Linked DNA regions of Homo sapiens: regions 1 and 3 are each linked to region 2. Evidence: promoter capture Hi-C in 16 types of primary human blood cells and fetal thymus (Javierre and others, 2016). All regions are on one chromosome and are shown on one strand. Each heading gives the region's core, a stretch centred on a gene start or on the middle of the fragment in contact. The rest is flanking DNA. Distances are from core to core; before and after follow the strand shown.

Region 1 (3,342 bases), core at 592-3,091, 190 kb after region 2:
GTTCGAATTGCTCGCCTATAAAACATAAATAAAACAAAAAGAGAGGAACACATCTGTTTGTTAAAAAAAAATGGGTTTTTAAAAATCCAACCGGTTGGTTAATTAAGTTAATTAAAACTTACCAAATATCAATTGCTATGGCTATTACATCCTGCCCAACTATGATTTTTTTTTTTTTGAGACGGAGTCTCGCTCTGTCCCCCAGGCTGGAGAGAAGTGGCCCGATCTCGGCTCACTGCAAGCTCCACCTCCCAGGTTCACACCATTCTCCTACCTCAGCCTCCTGAGTAGCTGGGACTACAGGTGCCTGCCACCACACCCGGCTAATTTTTTTTTGTATTTTTAATAGAGACGGGGTTTCACCGTGTTAGCCAGGATGGTCTCGATCTCCTGACCTCGTGGTCTGCTGCCTCAGCCTCCCAAAGTGCTGGGATTACAGGCGTGAGCCACTGCGCCAGGCCATGACTTTTATATTCTAATTTATTTTCCCTTCATTTTGAAAGCTTGTCAAATGGAAAAAAAAAATCTATGATTTCAAATGTTAATATGGGCTAAAAGTATGACAACAAATAAATTTTAAAATTGATGCCTTTTCATGTTATAACCAAAACAGGCTTTGAATCATAAGAAAACCGTAACATGCATCCAAACCAAACCTTACATTTTATAGACATGGAAGTTGAGGCTTAAAGAGTTGTTCAAGGCCAGGCACTGTGCCTCACACCTGTAATCCCAGCAGTTTGGGAGGCCGAAGGGGGCGGATCACCTGAGGTCTGGAGTTCGGGACCAGCCTGGCCAACATGGTGAAACCCTGTCTCTACCAAAAATACAAAAAATTAGCCGGGCTTGGTGGCTCTTGCCTGTAGTCCCAGGTACTTGGAAGGCTGAGGCAGGAGAATCGCTTCAGCCTGGGAAGCAGAGGTTGCAGTAAGCCAAGACGGCACCACTGCACTCCAGCTTGGTCAACAGAACAAGACTCTGACTCAAAAAAAAAAAAAAAAAAAGAGTTGTTCAACTAATTAGTACTTTACAGGCACTGCATAATGACATTTCAGTCAATGATGAAACACATTTCCAACAGTGATTCCATAAGATTATAATACTTTTATAATGTATCTTTTCTGTGTTTAGATACATCTAGATACACAAATACCATTGTGTTACAACTGCCTACAGTATTCAGTGCAGTGACATGCTCTACAGATTTATAGCCTAGGAGTAATAGGCTATACCATATAGTCTAGGTGTGTAGTAGGCTATAACCACCCAGAGATTTATATAAGTACACTCTATTATGTTTGCACAACGACAACATCACCTTTCTCAGAATGTATCTCTGTCATTAGGCAATGCATGACTGTCCTAGAAAGAGTCTCAACATAAATTTAAGACACTATTATTATGGAAAAGATCATTTGTATGCTAAATGACTAGAAAAAAACTTAAAAACTATTCAGAACACTAGAACTCTTTATCTTAATAATGACTCATGCTTATTTCTGTTTCGGAATATGTAAAATATTATGAACACTTCATGAAAAATATGCAAAGTTTTAAAAGCTTAAGGAAATCTCTAAATCTATTTAATTTTTAATTACTAGTGTATCGTTTGAATAGGATTTAAAATCAAGATGTACATATAACTAACATTAAACTATTATAATAAAAGAAACTGTTCTATTCTAAAGTATCATGTACTGTGTCACAAGTACCATACTCACCACATGTGCTGTTTGGCTTTGGGATCCATACCTGTAGATGGTTCATCTAGCAAAGTAATCTGAGGATTCCCTAGCATACTTAGAGCAAAACACAACTACATGGAAAGAAAAAGATGGGTGGGAAATTAACAAAGGTTCACTATAAGGAATCTATCAAGACAATATCAGGTACTAAACTATCAATAAAAATACAGGCATTATTTGGTGTTTAATGAAAGTACCTTTCGTTTGATTCCTGCAGGTAGTTTCTTTACAGTCTTCTGAAGATGTTCTTTTAAATCAAGTGCATGTGTTATTCTGCAAAATGAACAATACAAAATGAGAATACCATGATATATATAAACACAAATACCAACTGGGTGTGATCCCTGATGTTGTTTTCTCTAGAATAGTTACTTAGTCGAAGCTTATTATAAGTAGGTAAGGGCAAAAGTCTCCAATTTACATCATTTTAAATAAATTAATATCTTGATAAAATGGTTCACTTTGAATTAAAATAAGTTTCATGATATCTATAGGTATATTTATCCTGTAACTAGAAATTAAAAAATGACCTTTTTATAACTATCATAATTTACAGCTATCAGTATATTTTCATATATCATAAAGAATATATGAAAAAGTAATAAACATTTTCTATAAAAATCATTGTCCACAGAAATGCTTGTTATGAAATTTTAAAAATATGAAATGCAAACCTTTCCTCTAAGTAACAAAAGGAATCTAAAGACAATTATTTTACCGACTTATGACTTCTTTCATGTCACTTGCACTCATTCCTTTGACAGCTCCATAAATTTCAAAATGTTCCTGCAATGTAGTATCTGGCCACAAAGGGTTTATCTGAGGACAGTAACCCATACACTTCAGTGAATCATCATCTTCACTTGTCTCTGAAGAATAATCTCCTAAAAATACCTATAGAAACACAAACCAATTTTTATTATTTTGCTTAATTTACACTGTGAAGGAAGTGGCAAGTACATTAATTAAAACCCCTTCCTACAGCCAGACTAATATCAAGTCAGATTTGTACTCCTTTATTGTCATTATTATTATTATCACTAAGTAACTGAGACTACAAACATGTGCCACCATGCCTGGCTATTGCTTTTTTCTTTTTTGAATTTTAGGAGGGAAGATGTCTCACTACGTTGCCCAGGCTAGTCTTGAATTCCTGAGCTCAAGTGATCCTCCTGCCTCAGCCTCCCAAAGTGCTGGGATTACAGGAATGAGCCACTGCACCCGCCCAGATGTTTTACTCCTTTTTGATGTTTGATGATGGAAGGACATATAAAGCTAAGTCAGAGTTCAGAGACTTGGTCAGAAAGGGTAATACAGAGTTGGATGAAAAAGCAAGATGTAATTCTAATGATCAGGGAGCTTCACTGGAAGGTGACATTTGAGCCAAAGAGGTAAGTGAATTTAGTATATGTATTTCTAGGGTATAAGGTATAGCCAAACAAAGAAAACATCTTGGGCAAAAACCCAAAGAAAAGAGTATGCCTGGCATTTTCCAGGAAAGCAATGAGTTAGTGTGGCTGGCATAAAGTAAGCAAGGGGAGAGAAGCAGGAAATGGGATCAGGGTAGTTTTGTGAAGTATCCACAAAGTGGTCAGTG
Region 2 (3,626 bases), core at 811-3,310:
AGTAATTCATAAAGGAAAGAGGTTTAACTGACTCACAGTTCTACATGACTGGGGAGGCCACACAATCATGGCTGAAGGCAAATAAGGAGCAAAGTCACGTCTTATATGGTGCCAGGCAAGAGAGCTTGGGTAGGGGAATTCCCCTTTATAAAACCATCAGATCTCGTGAGACTTGAATACTATCATGAGAACAGCCCAGGAAAGACCTGCCCCAATAATTCCATTACCTCCTCCTGCGTCCCTCCCATGACAGATAGGGATTATGGGGACTATAATTCAAGATGAGATTGGAGTGGGGACAGAGCCAAACTATATCACAAGGCATAGTTGAAGAGAAATGTGATTGGCAGAATAATGGTCCCGTTCTAATCCTGGAATTTGTGAATATGTTACAGTACATGACAAAGGGGAATTAAGGCAGTAGATGGAATTAAGGTTGCTAATCAGCTGACTTTGAAATAGGGAGATCATCCTGGATTATCTGGGTAGACCCAGTGTAATCACAAGGGTGCTAAAAAGTAAAACAGGGAGGCAGACAAGATCAGAGTGAGGCAGTAGAAGAAGGGTTCATTCTGCTGCTACGGCTTTGAAGATGGAGGAGGAAGACCATGAACCAAAGAATGCAAGAAACCTCTAGAAGCTACACAGGGTAAGAAAACAGATTCTCCCCTACAGCCCCCAGAAAGAGACACAGCCTAGCCAACCCCTTGATGTTAGCCGAGTGAGAACCACATCACACTTCTAACCCCCAGAGCTGTAAGATGATAACTCTGTTTTGTTCTAAACCATTAAGTTTGTGGTCATTTTTTTTTTTTTTACAGCAGCAATAGAAAGTTAACATGGGGGCAGGGTTGGGGGAAGGAGTCCGAGAGCCTGAGGCCTGAGAACAAGACAGGAAGACATTGCTGGACATTTATTTTATGACGTGCCTCATCAGCAGAACAAAGAAGGGCATGGACTTATGTTTAAAAACTGTCCAGAAGTGACCAAAGAAATTCACCAGTGATGCAGATGAGCTCCTAATAATCATGCCATCGGAGCAGGCTGTGATAGCCTGGAAATCCTGCCTGAAACCAAACTGCAACATTTCCAACTAAGAAATCAAGCGGTGATAAACCTCAGTATCTGAAAGGGTTAAATATTGTGCCCACGTGACTACTGTTCTTTCTTTCTGTGAATTAATGTGTGTGCCAGAAAATATTTGTGAATAAAAAACAATTACATAATCTCATTGTCATGAATGTGGTTATTTATCTCTGAGCGTTAAGACTGATTTTTCCCCCCACTGAACATCTTAGTGTAAATATCAGAGAAAAAATATACTACCCACCGTAATAATATAAAACATCTAATTAGCTTAAATTGTTCTGAATAGGAAATTGTATAATTTAGAAATAATAAATTGGTTATAAAAAGCCAATCATTTCCCAGTCAGATAAAATTCCTGTTATTCACAGAACAAATTTTTCTAATTTGTTGCACTGGGCAACAAATTAGATCAAAATTTTAAAATAGTTACTATAATAAACAAGATCAATAAAAATCTTTCCTTAAGTTTTCTTGATGAAAATATTCTCAAGCCATTTAAAAACAATTCAAAACTCAGAAAATTATGCATCCTGCAATGCTTACAATTCCTCTGGCAGTAAAATTAAAAACAAACAAAGAAGAGTAAGTAATTCAAATAAATTTGGAAATAGTTCATACTTGTAAAGAAGCAACATAACGTGACATTTCTTTTGATTTATTCAATAGCCTATTAGATAATGTATGCTATTTGTCCAAAAATGTTTTAGTTACGGGGTAAAAATTTAAATTCTTAGTTCTTCATTTGGTTATTTAGACATACAAAATAAAATAGATGATTTAAAAAGTCAAAATGACTCGTTAATAACTTACTGCTTTTAATGGTTTCTACCTAAACGTCTGGCATGCCTATTTATAGTCTTATGTTATATTTCTATATGCAAAATAACCACAATTTTAGAGGTTAACTTACTCTCAGGAAAGCTGGAGGAAAAATCTAGAAACACAGTTCATCCATGGGTCTCTGCATGTTCTGGAGGAGAATTCACATTCCTTTTGGGTCACTACTACATCATGCTTTTAATTTCACATTCATTGTGAATAGTTCTGTTTTATACAAATTTCCCAGGAGAATCTGGTCTCAGTTCAGCTAGCCTGCCAAAATATCTTCTGCTCACGTGGTGATTTCTTTGCTGTTTTCCATTTCTTTGTTTCCTGCTAGTTACTCAGCAGGGAGTTTGTAGTTGCAGATGGTTGGCTGGACATATCAAAACATTAGGAACTATCAAACCAAGGAGAATCTAGCCTTTCTCAATCGGTCTTTTCATACAAGGCCCTAATGGGAGAGTTGACCCCAACACAATGATTTAAACAAAGATAAGTAAGAAGCCAATCCAGAGAAGAGTAGAGCAGAACAAAGTGAAAAATACATAAATATATATGTTATATATATATATATTTTAAGTGACAAGTAAATACATACAAATTGGGTTAGAAACTATTTAAAACCTTCAACAGATTCTTAAAACTTGAATCCAGAAATACGGCAATAAAGCAATGTAATTTTCTTCAGGGTAACAAAAGAAACTCTGAGTTTCCATCTGCATCTCAGTTTCATTGTGTGCATACTAATTGTAGCATCTTTCATCTTTCATGGTACTGAAGCGAGCAGAATCTTTAGAGAAATCTCACATAACAATTACCTGTGCTCTCAAAGCCTCCAGGCTTGTCATCTCTGCAACGGTTCCCATGAAACAAACTACTTTCTCCACCAGTAACTACTGAATTTTAGTATGTCCTGCTTTCCAGTATTGTTAGAGAAACATTTTTAACTGGTAATAGATGCCATTCTGTCTATTTTTGAGCATCTTATGTAAGTAGAAGAAAAGACTGTTCCAAAATTCTTATAATTCATGGAGTTCATCTTTGGCTGAAGAAGAGGGGGGAAAGGACCACTATCATTCTGCTTACAGCCAGTAAGTCTGTTAAATTCTTCAGTACTGTAATTTCTTCCTGAACATACAGCTGAAAGGGAAACAATAAATGCATGCAATTCTTAAATCAGCCTCTTATCTGTGTCTCATGGACCATGATAACCAAATGAAATCTTCCTTACCCATTTCCCATTCTCTCAATATTGATTCAATTATATTTATCCTTTTTCTAATTATATGCGATCCAGAAGTTGCTCAGCAAGCAGTCTGTGGAAGTAGGCTGAACTCCTGAATCCATGAGACTGTCAAACTTAAAAAAAAAAAAAAAGACTTCTGATTGTTTCCATATGTCTACAGAAAAGGTTATAGGTTGGTTGATTTTCTGCAGAAAATACAAAATTATCACATTCAATACATTTAATAACATCGCCAACATTTTGTGCACAGAGAATATAATTTAGGAAATTTTTTTTCAGTAACTTGTTTCCTAGAAGAACTTTGTACCTAGGTTAGAGCTTATGAGTTCTGGACCTAGTTGATTTTGACTTTCGGTTCTAAATTCTGTTTTCAATGTTTCCTTCAGTGTACCACACTGTAATCTCTGTGGCACTATAACAGAGCAAGCTCCCTCTCATTGATCTTCTTTTTAATATTTTCTAGATTAAA
Region 3 (3,221 bases), core at 282-2,781, 140 kb after region 2:
GGATGCTAAAAAAAGGGATGTGTAAGCTGATCCTGCCATAGCATATGAAGATATATTATTTTGATAATATAGAAAAAAACAAATATTGAAAATAGTGAGTATATAATTCACTGTAAAATAAAAGAGAACTTTTTTCCAAGTCCTAAGAATACAACAAAAGCACAAAAATGAACATATTAAGAATGTTAAGGTAGACGTAAGGCTGGACAACTGTTGTCAAATAGGAAAAGGACATAGAAAGGAAGAAAATTAAAATTAAAGGATCAGATGTAGGAAGCATGGGAAATTTTTTTAATTCATTAGAAAAATTAAATAAGCACAGATTAAATTGTTTCTGCCACAAGTCTTCTCATGTTTTATTTTATATAAATTTTTTTCAACCAAATACATAGATAATTCTTTAACGTTTTATGATCTGGAATTATACAGGGATCTTTATCAAGAGATAGTTCATTTCATTCTCAGGTAGAAGGGGCTCTATGTATAATCAATTAAAAATGGCTTGACAGTTAAATGGACATATCTATTAGAGTAGAGAATACAAGTGCAGATCTAAAGAAGGAAAGAAAATAAATGAGATGGTGTTTTAATGATATATCCACAAAATAGGAATTTATTGGTGGTAAGAGGAGGAAATTTAAAAGATTTTTCAGAAACTGTAGGATAATTAAAACAATACAGAATTTTCACATGTAATATTTCACTGCAAGCTGTTACTGAAAGCTAATATAATGTAGGGGGATGGAGCTGAGCAAAAGAAGAGCTAAGGAAGAAGAGACACAACATATAAACTTCTTGATGTATGAAAGCAAAAGATGTTGATGACATGTAGAAAAATATATGGGAAAGAATGGAAAAGTTATAGATAGAAATTCTTTGACAAGAGAAATGTAAATAGTATTGCAGTTTTAGAGATATTATGTGGGAGAGAAGAAATGTTCAAAGATGAAAATATGTAAACAGATCTAGAGTTGAACTAGCCAAAAAGAGAAATTACACTATGAAAAAACAAAGAAAAAATTTTAGAAGGGGAAACAAATTAAAATTCAAAAATGAATTCATTTTATTCATAGAAATTATAGTATTTTTAAAAACATATCAAAAATCAAACTAATGTTTTATATTCTTGTTTTGCTACTACTGTAGTTATTGCCTGTCCTGGTCAGTGCCTCACCCCTAGTAGCCAAAGCCGGAAACCAGTGAGCCATCCTCATCTCTTTTCCCTCTCACTTCCCCCAACTTCTACATAATTAACCACCAAATCAAATTTCTATTTCCTAAGAACCTCGTGAATCTGTTCTCCCCTCTGCATTACAATGACATCTTAATTTGATCCTCTCAAACAGATTAGTATCCACCTGCTTTGAGCCCATTCTTCATGCAGCTGCCAGAGAGAGCTTCCTAAAAGGCAAATCTCACCAGTGAAAGAGCCTACATACACTACTACTTCAGTCTGTCTCCATTTTTTGCACCAGTCGTTCTAATGCTTTTGGATTTTTTGTACAAACGATAGTTCAAGAAACAAATATGTTGTGTTAAGGATAGTTTAAAAGCCTATCTGCTATGCTATAACCATCACTGCAAAAATAAAATGATATTTTTACTACAAAATACAGATAGAGAAAAGCTATGATCTCACAATAGAGAAGACAATTTCAAATTGAAGAATTAAGGTATATAAATAAATTTCACATTCTTTCTCTTATCTGACAAGGTGAAAATTTTGTCACAGATCATCACCAATACTTGAGTTGCCCAAGAGGACACAATCCAAAATTCTGTACATTCCCTATCAAGTGAAAATTATCACCAGGCACCTATAGAGGGGCTTAATTGGAGACAAGCCTCAGAATCTCAGGGATCTTTACATGCTATATTGTCCTGTGCCATGTACATTTGGAAAAATCTCCCGGTAATTATTGTAAACTGGTTAATAATTTCTACATCACAGACTCCTACTATGCACCAGCTCTGCCAAACAATTTTTAATTTCCCTTATGATATACTATTTCACGTTGCTGGGCATACATGCTGGTGACTATATGGCTGGATAACTGTTGTCAAATAGGAAAGGATATAGAAAGGAAGAAAATTAAAATGTGTTGCTGGGCATACATGCTGTTGACAATATGGCTGTGGACAAAATGTGTTTTCAAGACTCTTTAAGATGATTTGTTTTTAAGACTCTTCTCCACAAGATAAACTTACCTATCCTCTAAATGCAATTTGAGGTGTTTCCTCCATGCCTTTTCTAATTTGACAACCCTAGAACTTACCCTCTCATGGAACCTTGTGGTATCCTCTTATTATACTTCTTACACTACATTTAACTACCAATTTACATAAGTATTTCCAATGCTAACTGCAAAAGCCTTGAAGACTCAGACTGTTTAACCCATCATAGGCTTCAATAAGCAGTTACATTTTAAATGGATAAGTAGATTAAACCTGATGTCTAATTGGTACAGATACCATTAGCAATTCTTGGCTTGTTTTGGTTCAGTAAAAGAATTATAAGTGTAAAAACATTTACATATAATCTGGTCTAAAAATAAAGATTTGAAAGATGCTTATAAAAATTTAGATTGACCAGGCACAGTGGCTCACACCTGAAATCCCAGCACTTTGGGAGACCAAGACAGCTAAATGGCTTGAGGCCAGGAGTTTGAGACCAGCCTGGATAACATGGCAAAACCCCGTATCTACAAAATTACCAAAATTAGCTGGGTGTGGTGGTGTATGCTGGTAGTTCCAGCTACTGGGGAGGCTGAGGTGGGAGGATTGCTTGAGTCTGGGAGGCAGAGGTTGCAGTGAGCTGAGATTGTACCACTGCACTCCAGCCTGGGTGACACAGTGAGACCCTGTCTCAAAAAAATAAATAAATAAATTAGATTTAAAAATACGTATTATACCCAAATAAAGGTAAGTGAAATTTAATCAAATGTAAGGACTTTAAAAAAGAATTTTAATTTGAAGCTGAGAGAGAAAAAGAGTTCATTCTTGCCTTACTTCATCAAATATTTATTGAGAGCCTCCTATACACAACGTAGCCTCTAGATGGAAAAACACACTTTGTTCATCCTGAATAAAGTTCAAATGGAAAGGCACATATATGCATTTATTTAATTTGCTGGGAATTTATTGAGCATCTACTAGGTGCCAAACACTGTTGTGATGCATCAGTGTCATAAAAAGCAAATATCTCTTCCCTTGTGGGGATC

The links. The method cuts DNA at HindIII sites, captures the fragments that hold promoters and counts their contacts. A CHiCAGO score of 5 or more calls a contact.
Region 1: a contact is called between a fragment that was not itself captured here and the fragment with the promoter of ABCA9 in region 2, in 1 of 17 cell types (M2 macrophages). The highest score is 5.2, in M2 macrophages.
Region 3: a contact is called between a fragment that was not itself captured here and the fragment with the promoter of ABCA9 in region 2, in 1 of 17 cell types (M2 macrophages). The highest score is 5.0, in M2 macrophages.

What each region holds. Positions count from the first base shown.
Region 1 is chr17:69,251,852-69,255,193 of GRCh38, forward strand. ABCA5 (ATP binding cassette subfamily A member 5) reads right to left here. Exons shown (of 39, transcript NM_172232.4): 32 at 2,464-2,639; 33 at 1,943-2,018; 34 at 1,722-1,816; 35 at 1-15. Among named protein-coding and RNA genes, the nearest start is that of PRO1804, 19 kb to the left of the region's middle. The HindIII fragment of the contact is 567 bases long and covers 1,559-2,125 here.
Region 2 is chr17:69,058,867-69,062,492 of GRCh38, forward strand. ABCA9 (ATP binding cassette subfamily A member 9) reads right to left here and starts at 2,061. Exons shown (of 39, transcript NM_080283.4): 1 at 2,000-2,061. LOC124904051 (a long non-coding RNA gene) reads left to right here and starts at 273. Exons shown (of 2, transcript XR_007065889.1): 1 at 273-649; 2 at 822-1,226. The HindIII fragment of the contact is 6,703 bases long and covers 1-3,626 here.
Region 3 is chr17:69,202,260-69,205,480 of GRCh38, forward strand. All of the region lies in intron 9 of ABCA10 (ATP binding cassette subfamily A member 10), which reads right to left. Among named protein-coding and RNA genes, the nearest start is that of ABCA10, 25 kb to the right of the region's middle. The HindIII fragment of the contact is 4,673 bases long and covers 1-3,221 here.